Linked DNA regions of Homo sapiens: regions 1 and 2 are each linked to region 3. Evidence: promoter capture Hi-C in human tissues and cell types (Jung and others, 2019). All regions are on one chromosome and are shown on one strand. Each heading gives the region's core, a stretch centred on a gene start or on the middle of the fragment in contact. The rest is flanking DNA. Distances are from core to core; before and after follow the strand shown. Region 1 overlaps KATNIP (katanin interacting protein). Region 2 overlaps GTF3C1 (general transcription factor IIIC subunit 1). Region 3 holds the start of XPO6 (exportin 6).

The links. Contacts are between HindIII fragments. The study calls those that stand out against the background at their distance.
Region 1: a fragment that was not itself captured here is called in contact with the fragment with the promoter of XPO6 in region 3 in 1 of the 25 tissues and cell types used here (dorsolateral prefrontal cortex).
Region 2: a fragment that was not itself captured here is called in contact with the fragment with the promoter of XPO6 in region 3 in 1 of the 25 tissues and cell types used here (dorsolateral prefrontal cortex).

What each region holds. Positions count from the first base shown.
Region 1 is chr16:27,669,079-27,672,271 of GRCh38, reverse strand. The region is part of intron 6 of KATNIP (katanin interacting protein); the gene reads right to left. It overlaps LOC107984874 (a long non-coding RNA gene), which reads left to right. Exons shown (of 3, transcript XR_001752113.3): 2 at 1,544-1,897; 3 at 2,588-3,193. Among named protein-coding and RNA genes, the nearest start is that of KATNIP, 120 kb to the right of the region's middle. The HindIII fragment of the contact is 4,430 bases long and covers 1-3,193 here.
Region 2 is chr16:27,544,569-27,547,836 of GRCh38, reverse strand. It overlaps GTF3C1 (general transcription factor IIIC subunit 1), which reads left to right. Exons shown (of 37, transcript NM_001520.4): 2 at 2,314-2,523. Among named protein-coding and RNA genes, the nearest start is that of GTF3C1, 3.7 kb to the left of the region's middle. The HindIII fragment of the contact is 4,315 bases long and covers 1-3,268 here.
Region 3 is chr16:28,210,291-28,214,003 of GRCh38, reverse strand. XPO6 (exportin 6) reads left to right here and starts at 2,039. Exons shown (of 24, transcript NM_015171.4): 1 at 2,039-2,638. The coding sequence starts at 2,636. RefSeq lists a silencer at 1,802-2,291 and an enhancer at 1,921-2,919. The HindIII fragment of the contact is 10,699 bases long and covers 93-3,713 here.

The DNA of each region.
Region 1 (3,193 bases), core at 418-2,917, 540 kb after region 3:
GGTAGGAACAGCAGAGACAAAGGCCAGGAGGCAGGAACGGCTGGAAGGCATGTGTTCCCTAGAGGGAGGCAGCAGTCACGGGGGACAGGGCTTTGTGGGCCTCAGGGAAGAGTGTGGATTTTGTTCTATGCCCTATGAGAAGCTGCTGAAGGGTGCTAGGCAGAGATACAATGTTATCTGATTTCTGCTTTTATTTTTTATTAATTTATTTTTTTGAGACGGATTTTTGCTCTTGTTGCCCAGGCTGGAATGCAGTGACACGATCTCGGCTCACTGCAACCTCCGCCTTCCGGGTTCAAGCGATTCTCCTGCCTCAGCTTCCCAAGTAGCTGGGATCACAGGCGCCCGCCACCACACCCGGCTGATTTTTGTATTTTTAGTAGAGACGGGGTTTTACCATGTTGGCCAGGCTGGTCTTGAACTCCCGACTTCAGGTGATCCACCCGCCTCAGCCACCCAAAGTGCTGGGATTACAGGCGCGAGCCACTGCGCCTGGCCTGATTTCTGCTTTTAAAAGATCTCTATGGCTCTTGGATACCAAGTGGATTTTAGGAGGTGGGACAAGGATGGAAACAGGGCTACCAGCTTTGCTGCAGTTGCAGGTGAAAGAGGAAGGTGGCAGCAGAGGTGGGGACAGGGAGGAGGCCTCGAGATCTATTTTGGAGGCAGAGATGACAGACATGACTGACTAGAAATGAATCATATGCATACCCTCTGACCTAGCCCTTCCAGGAATGTATCCTTTAGTCCTAAGTACACAAAGATCGTTGAGGCATCCTTTATAATAGAGAATGGTCCACATGGTTATCAATGAGAGACGGATTAAATATCTAATAGAGCGGGTGTTCACCGAGCCCCAGGCAGCTCTTACAAAGAATGAGGTAGCTCTACTTTTGTACTTCTTTGGGCAGATATCAAGATATACATTTAAGTAAAAAGAAGCGTGTTGAAAAATGTACATATAACACGAACTCAATTTTTAAAATCATTGTTAATTTCTATACATGTAGGTATGCATATATGCATAGAAAAAGTCTGGAAAAATAGGCACCTGACTTTTTATTTTTATTTTTATTTTTGAGATGGAGTCTTGCTCTGTCGCCCAGGCTGGAGTGCAGTGGCGCGATCTCAGCTCACTGCAACCTCTGCCTCCTGGGTTCAAGCGATTCTCCTGCCTCAGCCTCCCGAGTAGCTGGGCTTACAAGCACACACCACCATGCCTGAGTAATTTTTTGTATTTTTAGTAGAGATGGAGTTTCCCCACATTGGCTAGGCTGGTCTTGAACTCTTGACCTCAGGTGATCCACCTGCCGTGGCTTCCCAAAGTGCTTGGATTACAGGTGTGAGCCACTACGCCCGGCCAGCACCCAACTATTAACAATGATCTCTCTGACAGCCTTTCCAGGACTTTCCTTTTCTTCTTTGTTTTTAAAAAAATTATTTAGTATTAGCAGGCATCCAATTTTGTAATTTAAAAAAATGATACGTTTACATTTATGTTTAAATTTTGTCCCTCCTTCTTGCAAATAAATAAATTCCCTAGAGGAGTGGCGGGGAATGGTGGAGTGGAGGACCCTGGACAGCCAGCTGCCTGGAAAAATCATCTCTATCCCTGGAACACATGTGGTTCCCAAAAGCCAATGACAAACAGCAGCACTCGATGCTGGAAGACAACGGAGGAGCATCTGTCTAACTCGAGAATAAAGTATCCAGCCAAGAGGTCCAGACTGGAAAGTAACACACCATCCATCTCAAACAGCCAGAAACCCAGGGAATACAGACGGCATTCATGAGCTCTTCTCAGAAAATATCACCCAGGTGACAAAATCCAGACCAATGAAAGAGGAAATCAAAATAAAGATAGAGGCATGGACAAGCTGTGATCAAAGGTCTAATGGTAAGCGCTGTAGCCACTTAAAGTTTGAATAAATACTAGGCATTTATGCACATTAGGGAGATGGACCAGAATGCAATGCTATAAACCTAAGCCCTTAGCTTAGCTAACAAAAATCAGGAGAGGGCAGGCAATGTGGGTGGCCTAATTTTCCACACCAGAAAGTCAACCCCAAATGCATCTCAAATGGAAACTAGAGTTTTTTAAAAATGGCAACTCTAACCTCTTATTTCCTAATGTATTAAACCGATGGCTATTTTAAGAAATAATATTTCCTGTGATAAAGAAATTTGAATTTCAATAATTCCTCCTGTTTCAATTTGGTTTCTTTTTCTTCTTTTAAATTAATGGAAATTTAAATGCCATGATTGTATTTGCAAAATATATATAGGCCAGGCGCAGTGGCTCATGCCTGTAATCTCGGCACTTTGGGAAGCGGAGGTGGGAAGATTGCTTGAGCCCAGGAATTCGAGACCAGCCTGGGCAACAAAGTGAGACCCCCAACTCTATTTTTAAAAACTTAAAAAATGAAACAAAAAAAAAATTCCCTCTCCCCAAAGAAAATATATATAAAAGAGCAGCCTAGATTCGGTGTGGCTGGCAGCTTCTTCGCAAAGGAAACAAATGCATTTGCTCACACTGGATGAACCTAGACCCTTATAATGCTCACGTGATCTAAACCATCTGTCCTAGGGGCAGAGGGGAGACAAACTAAGGAGCAACATTCCCTGGAGGAAGCCGTTCAAAACCTTTCCATCTGGAAAGATGAGGACCTTGGGCTGGTCGCTTTGAAAGCCAATCTGCCTGTACTTCAAAGAGATACCATGCTGTGGGATCTACCAGGTGCTGTGAAGCCATCATCCAGAAATTTCTCTGAAAAAACATACTTTATAGCTTTGCTTCAAAATCTTGTTATATTTGATTTCAGTGTTCAGTGTTTAAAATGTTAAGTTCAAGCCCTTTCAACAGAAAGCCCTCTGCATGGAGGCCAGGCTGCCAACACCGCAGGTGGAGATCGGATGACAGGGACTGCACACAAATGGGTCTCCTCACTGGGGATCCAGGGAGAAGGTGGAGGGACGGACGCTGATACAAAGACTTAAAGGTAGTTTCTAGAAGAACCACTGACTGAAATGCAGCAGGGGTTTGATGGTCAGTGAATTAATGCCTTCTATGCCTGAGCTTCCTCTTTCTGCTGAACTAGGAAAAGTGACATCAGGCGACCATCAAACATGAAGTTTTTGCAATAATAGTATCAGTAACTGTAACATCAAAAACAATAGCTACTACTTGCTAAGC
Region 2 (3,268 bases), core at 490-2,989, 670 kb after region 3:
TCCAGCCAACATGGTGAAACCCCATGTCTACTAAAAATACAAAAATTAGCTGGGCGTGGTGGTAGACGCCTGAAATCCCAGCTAGGTGGAGGCTGCAGTGAGCCGAGATTGTGCCACTGCACTCCAGCCTGGGTGACAGAGGGAGAATCCATCTCAAAAAAAAAGCTTATCCTTTATCAAAAGGACAGTGAGAAGTCACTGAAGAGAGGGTCAGACTAGGGGCAAAGAGTGAAGTTGAGAGATTTTTAGTAATCTAGTCATGGTCTGGCTTACCATGGTGGGCGTGGGGATGAAGAGCACAGGCAGTCAAGACATAGTAGGCTGCTGTTTGGGCACCTGAGCGAACCCTGATTCTCATCTCTGAGGCTGGGAACACGGAAGAACAGCGTGGGGGTTGAGTCTGGGGGAGGTGGGGACTTTGCTGAAGAGACATGTGACACATTTAGCTTCAGGTTCTTTTGAGTTGTCCAAGTGAAGAGTCTTAATTAGTAAACATCTGGCTTCGTGGGAGTGAAAGCAGGCCAGAGGGAGGGACTGAGCTAGACATCTGTGAGTCATTCCTAGCAGCTGGTAATTAAAGCAGCTGGCTAAGATCAGCCCTAAGAGAGAGTGTAGTGTGGTTGGAGGTCTTGAGATATAGCTCTGCAGTGCACCTACATTTCAAGGCTGGATGGAGGGTGAGGGACTTTCAAAAGAAGACTGAGGCGGTGTGGCTGGAGAGGTAGAGGACAGTCAGGTCAGAGTGGTGTTCTGGAAGTTTGGGAGGAGACAGGATCATTTAAGAACGGAGGGTTGGGCTGGGTGTGGTGAATCATGCCTGTAATCCCAGCACTTTGGGAGGCCGAGGCAGGTGGATCATTTGGCCAACATCGTGAAACCCTCTCTCTACTAAAAATACAAAAATTAGCTGGGTGTGGTGGCAGGTGCCTGTGATCCCAGCTACTAGGGAGGCTGAGGCAGGAGAATCGCTTGAACCCAGAAGGTAGAGGTTGCAGTGAGCCGAGATTGCGCCACTGCACTCCAGCCTGGGTGACAAGATCAAAACTCAAGTCTTAAAAAAAAGGAATGGAGGGTTAAATGGTGCAGATAACACAGAGGGGGCAAGGAAGGAAAGGGCTGAAACATGTACATAGGATTTAGCCGCAATTAGACTAGTGTAGGATATGAGTGAGATTTCAAAATAAAACTCGACAAGCAGCCAGGCAAGGTGGCTCACACCTGTAATCCTAGCACTTTGCAAGGCTGAAGTGGGCAGATTACTTGAGCCCGGTAGTTCAAGACCAATCTGGGCAACATAGTGAGGGGAAAAAAAATTATATATATATATATGTATGTATTTTTTTTTTTTTTCAAAAAAAAAAAAACTTGACAAGCTTGGCTAACTGCATGAAAGAAGCACAAATGAAAAATGTCTCCATGGTGTTGTAAGAGGCACATGGAAGAAAGCGGTAGTAAGAGGGGAAAGAAGGGACTTAATTGGAGCTGGGGAGAGGTAATCATATTTGGAATGGGAGGCATTTAATAGACAAGTGAAGACATTGGATCTGTATTTGGAGAAAAAGGACTGAGGATTCAAAGGTGAGACTTGTTAACATGCAGGCGGTAATGCAAACCATGAAAATGGGTTAGGATATTAGAGAGATAACTAAGGAGAGATGGAAAGATGAGATCTTAAAGGGAGGAAAGCTTTGGCCACTTGTGGTGGCTCCCACCTGTAATCTCAGCACTTTGGGAAGCTGAGGCGGGTGGATCACCGAGGTCAGGAGTTCGAGACCACCCTGACCAACATGGTGAACCGTCATCTCTACTAAAAATACAAAATTAGCCGGGCGTGGTGGCACACCCCTATAATCCCAGCTCCTTGGGAGGCTCAGGCAGGAGAATTGCTTGAACCTGGGAAGTGGAGGTTGCAGTGAGCCAAGATCATGCCATTGGACTCTAGCCTGGGCAACAAGAGCAAAACTCCATCTCAAAAAAGCGGAGGAAAGCCTTGAATCATTTCGTCCAACTTGGTGGTTTGGAGACTGAGTACCAGATTTGGAGGGAAACAAAAGCCCATGACTTGGCCAATAAGGAGGTTTAGGTCCCAGCACCCAGCTTCTGGAATAGTCTGGGGAGTCCTGGAAAGGTCTGCGTTCTGTGGGATAGAAAGGCAGGAACCTGCTTGTCAAGATTATCTGCATTTATAAGGCAGGAAAACTGACTGATCTCACTTCTCTCTGATCTCTGCTGGAGGTTGTCAAAAGAACACAGCCAAGCACACATTATATCTGAAGCTGAGTTGGGCTTTGATATTTGTGTTTTTCTCCTTAGGTATGAAGAAATTGATTTGGAAACTGGAATTTTGGAGTCTAGGAGGGACCCGGTGGCTTTGGAGGATGTCTACCCCATTCATATGATCTTAGAGAATAAGGATGGCATCCAGGGCTCATGCCGCTACTTTAAGGAGAGGAAAAACATTACCAATGACATCAGAACCAAGTCCTTGCAGCCTCGCTGTACAATGGTGGAAGCCTTTGACAGGTAACTATTTTGCACCATCAGAAATTCCTGGGAATCTGGCCGGGTACGGTGGCTCACGCCTGTAATCCCAGCACTTTAAGAGGCCGAGGCAGGTGGATCACTTGAGGCCAGGAGTTCAAGACCAGCCTGGCCAACATGGCAAAACGCTGTTTCTACTAAAAATACAAAAATTAGCCGGGTGTGGTGGCACATGCCCATAATCCCAGCTACTGTAGTGGCTGAGGCATGAGAATCACTTGAACCCAGAAAGCAGAGGCAGGCTGCAGTGAGCCGAGGTCATGCCACTGCACTTCAGCCTAGGCAACAGAGTCAGACCCTGTCTACAAAAAAAAAAAAAAAGGAAAAAAGAAATTCCTGGGAATCTGAGTGCTTTGAATGTGTAGTCAGAGCACTTGGATCTGGCCCACAACCTTGGAGTCTGTCAGAGTTCACTAGCCCTGCACTACGCCAGTTCTTGGCCTTCATTCGCCTTCTTCACTGGGGTCACGGGTCCTGCCTTTCTCTTTCCTTTGTGCTCACAGTCCTTGAGCACTTGAATGGTGCCCTTTCTCTCTTCCTACCTGGGCCCTGTGCTGCCAAGCCATTCTCTTGTGAATCCTCAGTCAGTATCCCAATTCCCCAGAGTGTCTAATCCAAATGATCATTTTTTTTCAAGCACCTAACTCCATTCCTGCCTTCCTTCCTACTTTACAGGGCAATGTGAACTCTGCTAACTTCCACCTTCTTTCTTGACTTGCAGACTTTT
Region 3 (3,713 bases), core at 790-3,289:
CTCATTAAAAAAAAAAAAAAAGTGCTTGAGGCTGGGAGTTTGAGGCTGCAGTGAGCCATGATCATGTCACTGCAACAGAGTGAGACCCTTTCTCCAAAAACAAACAAACAAACAAACAAACAAAAAACTAAAAAACCCCTGAAAGCTATTGCTTTCAGTGGTAAAGTGTTGTATCAGTGGTTCTCCAAATGTGGTATCTAGACCTGCAGCATCAGCTTCATTTGGGAGCTTGTTAGAAATGCAAATTATTCAGCCCCATCTCAAACCTACTGGATGGGAAAGTCTATGAGTGGAGCGAGTAATCTTTGTTTTAACAGTCCTTCTGGGTGAATTGATTCAGATCACACTGAGGTTTGACAGGAAAGAAAAATAGCTCAGGGAAGTCTGAGTTATGTGAAGTATGCAAAATTTGTCAGGTCCACTGAGACTTGTGTATGGGAGTTCGGGCACACTCCCACCTCCACATGCTCGGGGACAATTGTTTAAAGATATTTTGTTCCAGACTAGCTGCCTCCCCCATTTCCTTCAGGTTCCTGAAATTTGTGATACAAAGAACAATGTATAGGCAATAGCTTATGTTATTTTTTCCCCCTTTCTCATCATTCCTATTCAACCTTATGTTATGCCTCTTTTTTCCTTAGAAACCCACTTGAAGCCAGGCGGGAGGGCTCACGCCTGTAATCCCAGCACTTTGGGAGGCCGAGGCTGGCGGATCACCTGAGGTCGGGAGTTCAAGACCAGCCTGGCCACTATGGTGAAACTCCGTTTCTACTAAAAATAAAAAAAATAGCCGGGCATCATGGTGGGTGCCTGTAGTCCCAGCTACTCGAGAGGCTGAGGCAGGATAATCGTTTGAACCCGGGAGGCGGAAGTTGCAGTGAGCTGAGATTGCACCATTGCACTCCAGCCTGGGCGACAAAGCGAGACTCCGTCTCAAACAACAACAACAACAAACTACACTCTAGTCTGGGCGACAGAGCAAGACCCTGTCTTAAAAACAAACAAACAAACAAGGAAACCCCATTTGTAACTGCCACTAATTGGACTATACTTCTGGTGGGCCATCTTCAAGCTTCGGGCTTGAATAAACCCTATACTTAAATACTATTTTCTCAATCTCGTTATTTAAGGTTGACAAGGGCCATTGGGTTACATAGATTTGCTCCAATCTATGTAGTAGGCACACCCGCGGGCTCAACCTCAGCTGTTTGGGATAGTTTCCTGACTGTTTCTTAAAATTAGCACTTTCAGCCTGGCTGGATGACTCATACCTGTAATCCCAGCACTTTGGAAGGCTGAGGCAGGAAAGCTGCTTGAGCCCAGGAGTTCCAGACCAGCCCAAGCATCAAAAGGAGGCCTCACCTCTGCAAAAAATAAAAAAATTTAGCTGGGCATGGTGGCGCACCAGGAGGTTGAGGCTGCAGTGAGCCATGATTGTGTTACCGCACTCCAGCCTGGGCAACAGAGCAAGAACCTGTCCCCAAAAATAAAACAAAATAAAGATGAGCACTTTCACGAGTAAAGTGGATTGGAGGATGGGAACAGGAATCCAACACATTCTCTGCCTCTCTCAGCACCTTGGCTATCGAAGTTACGTTTATCTCCCCTGTCCTAGCATCCACAGCAGGGCCTGGAATATAGTCGGGCAAGAGTGTGTGGACTGCATGAATGTAAGCTCCATAGGGCCGCGTGTCGTCACGCTGCCAGCTCGATGCTCCGCCCGTAAAAGGCACTCACTAAAATTTTAGCGGAATGAATGGGCGAAAAAAGCGAAAGGGAAACCACGCCTTTACTAAAATGGCAGCCCGGGCTCCCTTTACCAAGATGGCTGCCGGCCCGCGTGGACGCACGGGCGGTGGGCGCAGGGGGCGGGGCAAGAGAGGGCGTGGTAAGAAGGCGGGGCCAGTGGGAGCCGTCAGGTGCAGCCCCGCCCTCCGCCCTCCGCCCGCTCCCCCCGCTCGCCCCGCTCGATTCCGGATTGGTCCGGTTCCAGCGCCGCAGCCCGGCGGCCGCGCTGTGGGGCCGCCCGGCGCTCGCCACTTCCGGCGCGTTGGGGCTGTTGGTCGGGGGCGGCCGCGCGGTACTAGCGGGCGGCTCCAGGGCGGGCGCGCGCAAGGATGCTCTAGGGGGCGGCGGCAGTGGCCGTGTGGGTTGAGGCTGCGAGGACAGCGCGGGCCCCCGGGCCTCTCCCCTGAGCCGGCCGCCTGGGCCGCGCGGTCGAGGCCTGTCAGCCTCCGCCCGTTCAGCCTCGGGGCCGGGGCCGCCGCCACCTCTGCCCGCGGAGGCCGGGGAGCCCCTGCCTGGGCCCGCAGCCTCCCCCGCGGGGGTCGGGCCCGGGCGGGGGTCCCGAGCAGCTGCCCTCCTCGCCGGCATCCGAGCCTCATTTCCTGCTTTTTCAGTTTCCTTGGGGAGGGGCGGGTGGGTCTGGATGAATTGTCTCGGGGTCCCCCGATGAGGCGACCCGGGCGGCCCTGCCCTTTTTAGAGGGTCCCCTCGGGGCCCGGTGGGGAAGGGGTTGTCTTTGCATGGGTGGGGGACTTCCCGAGTCTGCCGGGACCATGACCTGAACTGTGCGAGCGGGACGTGTCCGAAGCCCAAGAACCAGCTCATCTGAGCCGCCCCCTCCCCGGCCAGCATGGTAAGTGGAATTGGAGCCCCCTTCCCTCCTGGGGTGCCCTACCGGAAGGGTGGGAATGGGCCCCGGGGCTGCTGAGCCATCGCTGCTCTCCCCATGGCGGGGAGAGGCGCGTGCGGAGCCTGGCCGGTGACACATGCGTGCAGAGTGTGCAGCCCCGGCCCTGCGCTCCCATCCCCCCAGGGATGATGGCTCAGGCCTGGGAGGGCCCTGGGAGCGCAGCAGGCACAACCCTTGCATCTGGTGTTTGCCTCCTGCAGCTCCTCCGGATAATAACTATCGTTTATTGAGGGCTTACTACTTGCCAAGGCCCTGCGCGAAGTGATTGACAGTGCAGTAGTATTTAATGATCACACCAGCCCTCTGTTCGGAAGTGGGGAGACTGAGGCACGGAGCAATTAATTCCCCAGCTCAAGGTCAAGCGACTTTTTAACAGTGTTAAGATTTGAACCTAGGCATCTGACTTTGAACCTAGGCATCTCTAATACACTTAGAGAGCTGGGTGATTGTAGGAGAAACATCTCATCTAGCTGTAGGTTTATATATGAGGAAACAGAGCGATTTACAGAGGTCACTTGCACAGGTGATGGCAAAGTCAGGAATGGTCGTGATCTTTTGACACTGAGGCTGCTATTCTACATGCTCTGATCTCTGCTGAAGCTACCTTCCACGTTTTCTAGACCGATACTTTCAATACTCCCCTAAATGTGTGTACTCACATCTCTTTGTGTATCCACATCTCCACGTTTTCTAGACCGATACTTTCAATACTCCCCTAAATGTGTGTACCCACATCTCTTTGTTAAGCATTTGCCTTTTTGCTCTTGTAATTATTTCTGAGCCTTATCTGTCTATTGCGGTATACACAGCTCCTTCAAAGACCAAATTGTTTGAACCCTTATCTGCTCCAGCTCCTGGCACATAGTAAGCCCTTGGTAAGTACTGGATCACCTAGCCTGTGGTTGAGCACCTCGAGGAGTGGAGCTGTTCTCCTCAGTTTCACCCATTTTACCCCTGCCAAGTTAGTGGTATAATAGAGAAAGGGACATAGCTGCATCTTTTGTGATACAGACCTTAA